Regions from separate parts of the Homo sapiens genome. Here region 2 is linked to region 1. Evidence: promoter capture Hi-C in 16 types of primary human blood cells and fetal thymus (Javierre and others, 2016). All regions are on one chromosome and are shown on one strand. The core of a region is centred on a gene start or on the middle of the fragment in contact, and the rest is flanking DNA. Distances in the headings are between cores, read along the strand shown.

Region 1 (7,268 bases), core at 2,804-5,303:
TTTGTTTGTTTGTTTGTTCGAGATGGAGTCTCACTTTGTCGCCCAGGCTGGAGTACAGTTGCGCCATCTTGGCTCACTGCAACCTCCACGTCCCAGGTTCAAGTGATCCTCCCACCTCAGCCTTCAAGTAGCTGGGATTACAGGCATGTGCCATCATGCCTGGCTAATTTTTTATATTTTTGTAGAGATGGGGTTTCACCATGTTGGCCAGGCAGGTCTTGAACTCCTGACCTTAAGCGATCCACCCATCTCGGCCTCCCAAAGTGTGCCACTGTGTGAGCCACTGCACCCAGCCTGAATGTTTTAGTTTAAGTTTTTTCCCATAGAATCTTTGAACCAAATGGGCTTTAGATTCCCAGTCTGGACCGGAAAAACCTATTTAACAGATAATATATCCAAAATGTAGAAACAAAAAAACTATGGAACTTAAAAAAAAAAAGTAAAACACCAGGAATGTGTTAGAGATCCAAAGTGGGGTGCCAAGAACACATCGTGGTGTTCCTTGTGGCCTGGCAGCGGGAGCAAGGACTGGCCTCAGCTCCTTTGCACACCACGTAATGGTTTCCCAGATGCCTTCAGCCTCGTGCCACCGTCAAGAGAGGCTTCCCCAGTACTGAGCTGAGGTTCGAGATGAGGAACTGGATCAGGTATGAGGAGCAGAACTGAGAGTTGAGAGGAGAAGGAGAAGGCACACAGGGCAGGGAAGGCAGGGAGCAGAACAGTAGTGGTCCTGCTTTTTTCCACATCCCTGCCTCAGGGCTGCTGACCAGTCCCCCAGTGGCATCAGGAGAAGCATCAGCCGGGGCCCCTTCCTTTGTCTCTCCTCTTTCTGAGACTGATAAGTTACAGGAGACCCTCCCTGCCTTTAATCAAAACTGCGGTAAAATTAAAATATGAAATGGAGACTTCTGCCTGCAAGTTTTAGGCAGTAGCATTATCTTTAGCTGTTGGGAAGCATTCCAGTTGCTGAGCAGTGGAGGCAGCCACTTTTATATAGTAGTTAGGCCCTTTCCTGGAGAATAAGAGATGAAGACCTTTGAAACAGGAGTTCCTCCTGGTGGTGAAGGTTCCAGAACATTCTGGAACAGGGAGCATATCCACCCTGCTTGAATAGCTCCAGGGAGAGGATACTACCTCAAGGCAGCATCTTCCACAGTTGTCCATCCATGGCTGTTAGGAAAGTCTTTATATGGAAACTCAAAAATGCCTTCTGGAAAATTCATTTCTCTCTGCTAGTTCTGTCTTCTGTTAGCCTTTTACAATTAATCTAATCTTTTGCATTTGTGTATCCTGGTTGCTTGCAAAGAAAAAAGTCAGGCCAACCTTGATACCATGAGGAATTCATTATTTACACTCTTTACCTGAGTCTCTTGCTGGGTCTCTTCCACTGCTTTGTTAATAAGTACAATCAAGTATAGGTCCTAAACCTCCCCCAGTTCAGTGTGCAACTGTTTACCAATAGGAAAATAATGGAATGTCTAGGAGAGAACCCTAGATAGCAGTATTTTTTTCTTATTATTCAGAAAGAATGTAGAGAATATTATATGTCATTTAAAATGATATGACTTTTGGCTGTTTTATTTTGAGTTTATTAATGAGGTACAACCTCTGTTTTATTAGTTTTGGCAGTATTCAGGTTACTCTATTTTTAAACCCTTTAAAAATATTAAATCTTCTTCTCAGGAATACTCAATATTTCCCTGATTTAGACCAGTTTTGCCAGTGTTTTCCACTCATGGAAAGCTTTGGATTTTGGTTTCAAGTCTCTCTTAATCAGAGTAGTGTTTGGAGTATTCTTCCAGTGCTACTGCTATTACTAATAAATCATAGTAGCCTAGAGCTAAGAGAGGTCTTTGAGACTTTCCCCCCATGGCCCTCTTTTACTGAGAAAAAGCAGAGGCAGTGAGCGTCCAGAACTGGCTGGAGGTGGTGGAGCTGAGGGCTGGCTTCCTCACTGCTTGTTGGTTGTGCTTTGCACTAGACTGCATGTCCTCCTAAATGGATTTTAATCTCATAGTTACTTCCAGACAGTAAACAGACTTTCCTCTGGAAAAGCCTAGGTAAGGAGGTTTGGCCAAGTTCTTAAAAGAGTTCATAACATATGGACTGGAAATAAAGCTTAAGAAGCACATAAGCTTTCTTGTTTCCATTTAACTGGTCTACAAACTTAGAAAGTTTATCTAAGTGAAATGGTATTTCCTCTCAGACACTATTATTAGGTAAATAAGTCACTGTGCTTTTAAATCCCATGTTTAAAGGCCCGCTTGGCAACTTTTCCCCTGGGTTTAAACATGCCTATCAGTTCACAGGTACCAGTAGCAGATTTCAGCATATAAATGTGATATAACATACTCCATATATTTCACCGAAGGAATCCAAACCAAATTCAGATGTAATCAAGGCATAGTCTTGTAAGCTAACAAATGAGTTAAAAGTCCAACATGCATTTGGAAACTTATTCACAGTACCATTTGTTCATGGATACTGATAAAGATAGCACTTTCCTTAAAAAGTAGTTAATTTTACCTTAGAAGTATAACTAGCATTCTGACAAAGCATTCTAGCTGTTCTTCCTTTTATACTAATTTTGCCCTTCATTAATTTCTCCACATGTCTAGCAATCAAGCTACTGTCTTAAAAAACAAAATCTACTGCCTCTCCATTTTTATGATGTTTCCCACAGTGCCTCAAGACTTGTGCTTGTAAAGTTAATTGTTTTTGTCTCAAACCTCAGATCAGTTATCAGAATATTTGTTTTTAATTGAGTAGTTAGTTGTAACAGAAGACTATATATCCTCTGTTCTTTCCACTACTACACTATACTCCTTAATGCCAAAAAACAAACTAAAAACATCAGGATCCTTTTATGTGTGTGGGCTTGTGCTCGATTTTTCTTTCTTTTTTCATTTCTTTCTTTTAACAGCTTGATTCTTGGATTTAAACAACTTTATTTTTAGGGAAATACAACCCCCTCAGGTTCTTTATGACTCAGTCCCTACACCATGTGGCCACTGTTTCCTGGGTGCCACACCTCTGAATAGATTAACATGAAAGAATGCTGTGCGCTATTTAGATTACTAGGGAGTAGAATATTGAATACATTGCTTAAATTTTTTAATCTAAAATTTAATCAGAAATTTACTTTGGGAGTAGACAAAGGAAATCTTTGAAAGTGTTAAATTCTGACTGTATACATGCTGTGAAAATTTCCTAATCTTTCATATTGAATATAGTGCTAGCTAAACTATTGCTGATAAGTATTCTTTCTTGGAATTGAATAGATTTCCATTTGAACTTTTCAGTGCCATTTCATTATAATAAGGAAGACATTTATCAAGGAAAAAAATGAATATTCAAATGTATAAGTAAAATTGACATTTCAGTAATTCACACATTTTAAATACACATTAGAAAATATTTTAAATATTGAAAAATATATTTACTGTTTCATTTAATATAGCTGTGATATCCCCAAACTTCATGATCATTATTATAGCAATGTTATTTTCCTAGATAAACATACAAGATGTTTATTTAGATGACTTTTAAAATCAATCATGTTAACATTTATGGTAAGGCATAATGACAGGTTTTCACTTAGCTGAAAAAAAAAGTCACATAATTATATTTAAAATACATTCATTATAGGTAAGACATAAAACTAGAATAATTTTAGGTACAAATTTAGGTTTGTATTTAAATGCTGATTTTTAAGAAATTATAGAGATAAACTTTGGACTTTATCCTATTATTTATAAGCATTTATTAATAACATTAATGTCTCCTTAGTATTGACTGTAAAGTATACATCGATACTTGTAAGATAGACATGAAACATACCTGTCAGAAGAGAGTAGTCCTCCTAAAAGTAGAAGTTATCCACCATGTACTACTTATCTATAATGTAAATGTTCTCAGACACTGTGTAAGAAGAAAAGATGAGGAGGTATTACATTTAAAAGAAAAAAAACACCCTTCAACACAGTCCTGGTGTGGCTGCACCCTGGGTGATACTGGAATAAACTGCTCCCACAGATTAGTCCATGTTAGTACTGAGGAGCAAGATTAAAACTTGTTACTGCTCATGTGTTTTCCATCACTGTTTGTATCGTAGCCAAGACTTCTAGCTAAACTCTAGACGTCTACTGGAAGATTCTGAAGAAGAAAAAAAAAGAAAGTTTAATAATGCATGGCAACTGGCCATTGAAAGTGCAGTCGGAGTCATTCAAGAAATACCTAGTTTTAAAAATATTAGATTCTTAAGTGAATGAATATTTGTAAATTACAATTTCAAAAATTACTCAACCTGTATAGACTAATAAAATATTTATCAATCTGAATAAAGGATACCAACATTACTGAAGTATATACCCAAACTTCAGATGTACCTGAGAAAGAACCATACTTTTTTTTTCTTCTAATGACTGTAGCTATTGCATTATGCATACTTCTCCAGACTTTTTTTTTTTTTTAAGCTTTTAGCACTGCTATAGCATGTCAGGGAAACTATGGATGAGGCTCCATGAACTGCTCCCTGGACTCAACATATGTGATATAACACAGACACACATGCATGTCCAAGTAACACCCTCTTAGGATGCATACAACTTTCCCTTTTCAAGAGAATATTAGCTATGGCCTCACTGACATTTAGGGAGACTTAGAGCAGGGAAGATGCTATTTCCTGAAAATAAATCATTATTTGTACCCCCTTTCCACTCATCCCCAAGAGACTGCCCAATTCTACATCAACTAAGACCTTCAAGAGAGGACAGTTTTCTTTTTTTTTTTTTTGAGACGGAGTCTCACTCTGTCACCCAGGCTGGAGTGCGGTGGCGCAATCTTGGCTTACTGCAAGCTCTGCCTCCCAGGTTCACGCCATTCTCCTGCCTCAGCCTCCCGAGTAGCTGGGACTGCAGGCGCCCGCCACCACGCCTGGCTAATTTTTTGGTTTTTTAATAGAGACAGTGTTTCATTGTGTTAGCCAGGATGGTCTCGATCTCCTGACCTCGTGATCTGCCCGCCTCGGCCTCCCAAAGTGCTGGGATTACAGGCATGAGCCACCATGGCCGGCCTGAGAGGACAGTTTTCTAACCCTAGTGGCAAGGACTTACTGTTGTAAGTGACCCCAATGGTTCTTCCCAACTGTTGTATAGATTTGGAGGCCAGCAAAGAGCTTTTCCAGTGGGTTAGAAGACCTGTTCTCTACTGTCATCAAGAGTCTGACCATCGTTTGTTCCCTCTCTCCAGAGAAATGGCACACATTGTGTTAAGCAAGGCAGCTACAGTCCTAAAGAATACATGTGCCTCAGATGTGCATAGCAGCTGGCTATGTGTTCATCCTCCCCTCACTTAAATAAAGTACTCCTCCTTGGACCTCTAGGCTGACAGTTCCAGGCAGCTCGGTAGTCCCATTAGTGGCCCTCTGTAACTCAGGCCCCATCCTAGCCCTGCAGCACCTTAGGGAATGACGGCCCTCCTGTTTGGTTTAGAATGCTCATATTCTCATTTATTCAAGTATATTTCAGTTGCAAATGTATCTGTTAACTGGATGAATTGGGAACATAATGAAAATATGAACTGGATTTTTAAAATCTTTGTATCCAGAGCATCTAGTGTTTGCCTAAATTCCTTCAGAACACAGTCATAAACAGGAAGCCCTTGGGTCAAATTCAGTTTGTCCTGCACAATGTTTTGTTTCTGAACTGTTTATTGAAGTGTATGTTACCAAAAAAAAACATATCATAATGGTACAACTCAATTAATTTTTACAAAATGACCCCAATCAAGAAATCCCAGCCTCACACTCCATTCTCATACATCCAGAATCCCTCCTCTTACTCCTCAAGTCACAGCCTGAGTTCAGCACCATAGGTTATTTCCTGAACTTTATATAAATGGAATCATACTGTGCATTCTCTTTTGCATCTGGCTTTTTTCATTCAGTGACATGCTTTTGAGATCCATTCGTGTCATTGTGATACACAGTAGTTCATTCTTGTCACTGTATAGTATTCTCATACATGAATAAGCCACAAATTGTTTATATATTCAACTAGATTAATTACCTTTTGGAGAGGTACTATGAACGTTCCTCAGTCTGTCATTTGGGGGTCATGTGTATGTATTTTTGTTAGGTGAAATTGCTGTATTTAAAAATAAGATTTCAACTTCTCTTTAAAAATTAGGCTTTCCCAGTCTGTGATTTCTGGTTTTGCATGGCAACTGTTGTCTCTGGGACTTGTGTTTTTCTCTTCTATACTCACAGGATGTTGTCCACGTCACCCACCCAAGGCACTCCTCAGTCGAGTTGCCTGCATGGCCTTTCTGGGTGCAGTTTTGCCTCCCATATCTAGAGAGTTGAGAGGCAGTTCCTGTAAGATTGTGTTTCTAAAGATATGTTACAGCTACTTTTCCTTCTCCCCACTGTGAGACTTAAGCTAGTCTTCCTCTGATATTTTGCTTCGATCTTTGGTCAGAGGGCCTAGGGAAAGAAATAGGCCCTGGAATAAGATGCTGGGGTTAGGGGTAGTATATTTGGCTTATTCACTCTGTTCTGCAGATAATGTGGTAAAGGTGCAGGCCTCAGGCACAACCCTCCACCATCTTGGGGCTGTGACATGGAAAGCTTTGCCTCACATTTGCCAGAGATGGTGCAGCAGGCACGAACGTGCCATCTGGGAAGAAACTGGAGTTTATCTCCACCCTTTTCCAGGTTATCATTCCAAATGAAACAGTGTACCTCTTCTTCCCTCAAGTATTGTGAAGAGAAAAATCTTCCATTTTTGTTTCCTAAAGGGGTCCTATGGAGGGGACCTAGTTCTTTTCTCCATGCTTTTTAAATTGTTTTATTTTTGCCTCATTGAGCCTTAGTCTAAATATTGAAGAACTAGTTGCATTATAACAGTATATTTAGGAATCACAAGTAATTTACATGTTGCAAACACAAAGATAAATTACAAAATTGAAAAAGTAATATTCTCAGTACTGACAGTTTATGAATAAAAATATTGATTGCCATAAAAGGAACTTTAATGCAAATTTATTTTCCTTTGGCCTTATATATGCTAACCATCGTGAAAATAAAAATAAATTGCCTAATCTAAGCTCTCGTATGATTTCTCACACCCTTTCTAGAACTTCTCCTGGTCTAGACATGGACAACAGTGGTCAAAGTCCAAACACAAATAAGAACAGGGGAGGACCTTGGAAACTGTCTCATGCAAATAAAAGATTGATTGATTGACAGAGTCTCACTCTGTCACCCA
Region 2 (7,268 bases), core at 1,573-4,072, 310 kb after region 1:
TTGGTGGGCAAAGAGACTTTCACTTTAATAACCTGTTGGAGGCTGGAATCCTGGTACTGTGGTCTCTGTGCAATAACATTATGCATGAGTGCCACCCAGTGGTGACCACTGGGATTTTGGACCAGGAAATCCCCAGACCTGGTAGGTAGTAGCTTGCGATTGGGCATTAATTGAAACTGCCCCTAAGACTGAAGGACATACTCTCATCTTAAAGCCTGAAATACACATGTTGTCTTGGGGGATGGCAGAGATACAGTTCAATAAGGAAGGCACTGCTCAGAAGAGTTCCATAATAAAACGGAAATGGTTTCTACAGGAGCATGATACAGAGGAATGCAAGGAGGGCTTTTCCCCTCTGGCCGGTTTCGGAACCAGCTGAGGATCTGCCAGGTCTATGGCATCATGGATGGTGCCCCATGAACAGCTCTCAATGGACAACAAAGAGCTATTTGGTTTGTGGTTGGCAGTTTCAAGGTGGATGGACAACATCCAGATCTGAAGGCCACCACATCATGAGCAATAATGGGAAAACTCATATTGAAAAAGGCAAGAACAAATCAGCCCAGCTAGATGAACTGCATGCTGCGTTTCTTGCTGCGATGAAAGAATGGAACAATCATAAGAGCTCGTGTTTGGGTTTTTACTGACTCATGGGCAGTGGCCAATGGCCTGGCCATGTGACCAGGCAGAGGGGCAATGGCAAACTGGGCTGTGAAGGGATGCCAACATGGAGCACAGCACTGCAGGAATTTAAGGGGCACATTAAAGTAGGTCATATCAATGCCCACCTGAAGAATCCCTCCCAGGATCTGTGATCAGATCCGGTAGGTGGATATCCTGGTGAACAAACTTGAGGTGGCCACCTAGGTTCAACAAAGGAGTGGGTGACAGTGCAGGGATGGGCTGCTCAGAAACATGTCCCTCCTGCACCCTCAGAGACACAAATGCCAACAAGAAATGCCTTGACAACAAGAAGATGGAGACCACAGGTGGCTAAGGGGCAGATTCCCCAGAGGGAGAACACCGCACATGCAGCTGGCAGGTGGACTGTACGGGACCCCTGCTGGTAGCCCTGGAGGGAGTTTATAAATGGGTTCTGGCAGGAATAGACACTTACTCTGGACTGAGCTTTACCTACCCAGTGGCAGATGCAAATGCTCAAGATACTATAAAAGTACTGAGCAGAAGTCACTGTATCAATGTGTGTCACTAAGTTACATACCTTCGGACCAAGGAACACACTTTACAACCTACACAGGGCAAGGAGACATCCCATCAAATGGGTATATCATGCTGCACATTATCCTCAGAGTAGTTTGTGAGAGAATTGAAATGGGCAATGGAAATGTTTGTTATCTTACATGGGGAGAGATAAAAGCGTGAAGGCTTACACACCTCCATGCATGTGTGCTCACACTTAACATGTGGTGGTCAAGGAGGATCCCCACTAGATAGATCCCTCCACTCTTGGGGTGATCTGGGGAAGATGGCCGGGAAGGATGCTGCTACGACTATGCAGTTCTTCACAACAGCACCTCAACTTTCTTGTCTCCTACCTGCTGAAAAGAGCCTGAGATCAGGCCCACAGCTGCAAGTGTTGGAAGCATCTGCCACTGGGTAGGTAAAGCTCACACTACCACACCTAGCTAATTTTTGTATTTTTAGTAGAGACAGGGTTTCACCATGTTGGTCAGACTGGTCTCGAACTCCTGATCTTGTGATCCGCCGGCCTTGGCCTCCCAAAGTGCTGGGATTACAGGCATGAGCCACCGCACCCGGCCAGAGGCAGGAATGATTCTTAAGTGAGAAACAGTTGTTATATCTTTTAACATTTGTGTCAGAAATCCTAAAGGTCTGATGGGATAGCTGTGCCTCCACTGCATCTGGCAAATCAGAGGTGGACAGTGAGTGCAGCTGTATCTCCTGGTGGTCAGGGCAGCCTCACAGTTCGTCTCTTTGCAGCCCTACCTTACATGACTGGAAATGGCCCTGCGGGAGGCACCTGCTGAAGTGGTATTGCTGCTGGCCATCTGGGCCTACACTGCTGGCCATCTGGGCCTACACAGTGGATGAACCTAACATCCCTTCATCCTTTCTAAAGGTGTGAAAGTTGGGTGAAAATCAATGACAAATGGAGAGAAGGAGAAATAGTAGCTGAGGGCAAAGGAATGAATAAATGGGTTATGCAATGAGAGAAACCCAACAATATATTGGTGCCTCGAGGTAAGCTCAGAGCAAGGGAATTATATTGTCTCTTAGCACAGTTATACCAGATGCCTGAAAGGGTAAACTTGTGTGTTTGTCAAACCATCCCTGTTTTAGGAATCTGACAAGGTCGAATAGCAACCTGCAAACCTAGTGACATCACTGTCAGAGACACTGTGGTCACACGACGATGACCAAGTGGAACTCTAGCATCTTTCAACTCTGACTTTTCAGGGTACATCTACAACAAAGGGTATCTTTTGGGAAGGGTTTTTTGGGAACTACTCCCTATTGGGGCATCAGACTGTGTAGTGTATGATTGCTGGTTGACTGACTCCTGTGTAACTATAAACCCAGGTGATCAGAGGCTTACAAAGTTCTCCCTGGTTATCTTGGACGACATAGAATGGTGGCCTGTCCAACATGCCACAGTGTGTTGTGCACAGACACAAACCACCCTGTTCTGTGAATGGAAAGCTCTTACACAAACCAGGAAAAACCACTGGGATGGTGATGGAACTAAAGCAGTAGGCATCACCCGGTGGGTCCAAATTCCCCAAGGGAGCAGCCCCTCCATGCACAAGTAAGACAATGGAAACCTCTATGACATATTCAGACTAAATGACAATGAGGTGTGACCACGACTTACAAAATGCAAGTATGGGGAAACCCAATACTTTTGAGTAATGAAACATGTATCCTAACTGCGCTCAGCCACGAGGACACAGTGGCAACAGCATGCATGGTGGCCTGAACACTGGCCCACCAGACAGAAAAGGGCCTTAGGGGAGACGGGTGCTGGCCTCGGCTTCATGGGATGAGCTGAATTTGCTTTTTTTTTTTTTTTTTGAGGGGGAATCTCACTCTTGTTGCCCAGGCTGGAGTGCAGTGGCGCAATCTTGGCTGTCTGCAACCTCTGCCTCCTGGGTTCAAGCTATTCTCCTGCCTCAGCCTCCCGAGTAGCTGGGATTACAGACACCCGCCATCACGCCCAGATAATTTTTGTATTTAGTAGCGATGGGGTTTCACCATGTTGGTCAGGCTGGTCTCAAACTCCTGACCTCAAATGATCCGCCCACCTTGGCCTCCCAAAGTGCTGGGATTCCAAGTGTGAGCCACCGCACCCGGCCTGAATTTGCTTTTGATGAAGAGTAGCACTCAGTGGGGAAAAATTTATTGAAAAAAATAAGCAGATTAAAGGGAGCAAGGGGTGGGAGTCAGCCTGGGAGGACAATGAGGCTTCGGTGAAGTGGGTTGGGTAACGTTGGGTAAAGCTAGCACCCAGTGTTGGGAAAGGGCTTCTCCCTAGATCCAACAGGGTTACTTGACTATTTTGTTACAGATGGAGGCCAAAGTGGCCGTGGGGCAGTGGCCCTCTGTCCTGGTTGCTGAGGCTCAAGGGGCCCACCTGTGGGAATCGTATGGGTCTCCAAACCTATGGAAGCTCTCTGAGAGCTCTTGCAACTTCGACCAATGCACTCTGCTCTGGATAACCCACATCCTGTAGTATAATCAGCAGGAAAAGGAACTAGTCTGAATACCACCTACATCCCTGTAGGAGAGAGTATGTGAGCCCTGCTATATAACAGAAGCCAGTCCTGCAATACAAGCCTGTGAACTAAGACAAGGCGACTGACTTTGAAGCCCAGGAATTACCGAGTCATGGTCAATCGTTTTTTTTTTTTTTTTGAGATGGAGTCTTGCCCTGTCTCCCAGGCTGGAGTGCAGTGGCATGATCTCCGCTCACTGCAGCCTCCACCTCCCAGGTCCAAGAGATTCTTCTGCCTTAGCCTCCCGAGTAGCTGGGACTACAGGCGCTCACCACCATGCCCGGCTAATTTTTGTATTTTTTAGTACAGATGGGGTTTCACCATATTGGCCAGGCTGGTCTTGAACTCCTGACCTCATGATCCGCCCACCTTGGCCTCCCAAAGTGCTGGGATTGCAGGCGTGAGCCACCACGCCTGGCCTGTCATGGCCAGTTGTAATGATGCCTGGTCATAATAATATCTGCCATGTGAACACCGGCGGATTCTATTGGAAAGGCATAGCAAATGGCACTTAAATTATGACTGATTTATTCTGTGATGAAGCTAAATTGTGCCATGACCATACTGCAGTGTGATGCAACACTGCATTTTTAGTAAGATAAGAATGACACATTCCATGTTTCATAGCATAGTATAGGAAAAAGGGAACACATCAACTTTTGCCATCTTCCTGACAAGCCAGGAGTTAAAAATAAGTAAATTAAATAATAATGAAATCTAATCCTGTAATTTCTAAGCAAACATTACTTTGACTTTAATCAATAAGGTTATTTAAAGTTCATTGAAAAATCCATATTCCTGCGTTTAGACTCATAAGTATTAACCAATTACAGAAGAATATAATACAAATAGTTTCTAAATGGACATAGAATTTAAATTCAGATTTTAATGAACTAACTTCTGGCACTGTAGAGCACATAATGTAGTCAGCATTTTGCAAATGTTGGAGTGTATACTTAGTAATGGAGTTGGTTAATAAATGTCAATGCAGTGAGACTGAGAATGGGATAGATTAAAACTTTCTTTTATTCTTCTTGCCAGCTCTGTGGCTACATGGGTGTGAACTGGAACGAGGCAGAAGGGATCTATTTTTCTATTTAGTGCCAATGAGCCCCCATGGATCTACGCAGTGTGCTTTGTGCAGATGAAGGTAAAATCCCTCCCTGAGAGCAGGTCTGTGCTCACGGGTGTCGTTGGTTTCTCCATTCACAAGCGTCAGGTGGAGCTTGGGTGGAAACCACCTTGATTCTTCAGGGCAGCTGCTCTGGTTTGTTCCATTTTTAGAGTTAGATTGTTTCCTTTAAGAGCCCTATACTTCACAGTAACAGACTCTGATTTGGAATTTGCATTCATTGTTTATTTTATTTTGTTTTTGCCCAAATAAGAAATTGCACATTTTTCTTTGCACTCTAAAGTCAAAAAGCCGAAGTGGGAATCATTATAAATGCAACATTTGAGTTCCTGTTATAGCTCCTTGTTCTTGGAAATGTTTCATTTGCATCAGGGTCGTGCCAGACATGGTAATGAAGGCCCTGAACAGAGGGAGAACCATCAGGGACTGCTGTGTGAGGAAAGCGTGGACTTTCATCCTGAAAAATGAATGTATCCATAACAACATCCTCAAACATAGACAGCTCTGATTAGTGCTCCACGAGCCCTCTCTCTAAAAACATCTGAAAATGCATCACTCTTCCTGGGGCTCACATGAATGGGGTAAATCCTTACGAAGGAGGGGCCTTGGTGCTCAGGAGGTGAAGCGCACGCCATTCTCCAGGTGTGCACGTGGGTCCGAGGAATCAGGAGCTCAGGCTGCACAGCCCTGCCGCTGCCAATCACTGCTCACAGCCCCTGAGCCCTGCTCAGAGGCAGCAGCATTTCCTACTAGGGGCAAGGTGCAGCAGTCACCAGGACACCCTGGCTCTTATTTGCAACTGCTGCATTACCTAATAGCCACCCATGGCTTCACGAGGAGGGATGCTCACAGCCCCCTGCAGAGCAGCCTCCAGGTTCCAGCCCCACAGGGAAGCGTCTGCCGTGACTTCCACCCACACAGCCTCTGCTTCCACACAATCACCCTGAATGGCAAAGGCTAAACACTTTGGTAATCCAAAACAGTAAACCCCAATTGTGCTACTCATAGTCCAATTTCTAAAATTTTACACTACAGCTGTTGAAAAATTCTAATGTTTATTTCACTGCCAGAATCAGCAGGGTAATGGACGTTTCAGCAATAAACATCATGAGCAACACATGAAATCTAATTAGCATTATTCCAATTTGCAACAGTTAAGTAAGTTATTACTCTGGGCTTTCTCCCCCCTAGATACCAATGCTTAGATTCTTGTAAAAATGTCAACTCTAGAAAAATCCTCTTTCCACTTCCAATTTTTTCTAATTCAATCTGTTTTCTAGTATTTCTTTAGAAACAAACTAATGAAATTCTCTATCATCCAGCTGTATGTACAACAGAGTGAGCTTTGTGACGCCCTCTGCACAGGAGCAGTATCCGTGAGACAAAAGAGTGGGACTCTGTCACCATGATCACAGATGAAGGATGCCGGGACACTCTGTCAAAGGAGACTCAGAACTCCATATAGGACGCTTGACTAAGATCCCAGGTACTGTCACCATGACTGTCACCCACAATTTTCCCAGGAGGGAGACACCAGTAGGAAAGAGAACAGCCCCTGTGATGTCAGGGCCAACCTGTCTCCAGCCTCCGTTCTGCTAAGTAACTCTAGAAGTTCCTCTCCTGTCTCTGGCCCAACTGACCATGTGTCAGATGCCTGGGAAAAAGGAACACAGACTTGATGATGATTCCTGGTTCTGAGCTCATGTCGCTGTGCTCCCAGGCTGTTGACACAGGCAGGACCCCTGGGCTTCTTGGATTCAAGCACACAGTTAATAACACAAACCCTGACAGCCTAGGCTTGAGCTGGGGTTCGTTGGGGGTGGGTGGCAGTGGTAGGGGAATAACTTAGGAAAGTTATTTAAGCTGCCTGGGTCTGAATTTCCTTGTCATAAAATAGGGGAAATAGTTGTACTTACATGGCACATCTGTGATGTGAATTAAATATCTGGCACCTACAACAGTGCCTGGCCCCCAGGATTTGGTGTGTGAAGAGTCCAGGTATTGGTACGAGTCCATGTCCACTGTCTTCCCTGATCCCCAAACCCAGGTGCACCCATTAGTAACTAAAATGAGGCAGACAAAAGGGATGAGTGATGAGCGGCAGTGGTTGCCAGAGGTAGGTCCAGGGACTATATTTCTTAAGACATTCTGGGTCAGGAATAATTACATAGAATGGAGCCAATAATTCCAAATCCATGTATTTAGTTAATAAGCTTTTATTTAGGGCATGCAGGTGCCAAATTTTGTCCCAGGCACTTACATATATTTAATCATTTAGTCTCCTCACAACCCATGAGAAATAAACATACTGTACTATCATTATCTACAAAGAAACATGGAATAAGACCCTAGAGAGAGCCTCCAGCAAAAGGGTGTCTGTG

The links. The method cuts DNA at HindIII sites, captures the fragments that hold promoters and counts their contacts. A CHiCAGO score of 5 or more calls a contact.
Region 2: a fragment that was not itself captured here is called in contact with the fragment with the promoter of ASPN in region 1 in 2 of 17 cell types (M2 macrophages and M1 macrophages); the score reaches 5.6 in M2 macrophages.

Annotation. Positions count from the first base shown.
Region 1 is chr9:92,478,453-92,485,720 of GRCh38, forward strand. It overlaps ASPN (asporin), which reads right to left and starts at 4,054. Exons shown (of 8, transcript NM_017680.6): 1 at 3,841-4,054. All of the region lies in intron 5 of CENPP (centromere protein P), which reads left to right. The HindIII fragment of the contact is 2,340 bases long and covers 2,134-4,473 here.
Region 2 is chr9:92,790,868-92,798,135 of GRCh38, forward strand. No RefSeq gene overlaps it. Among named protein-coding and RNA genes, the nearest start is that of BICD2, 30 kb to the left of the region's middle. RefSeq lists an enhancer at 7,199-7,268. The HindIII fragment of the contact is 8,551 bases long and covers 1-7,098 here.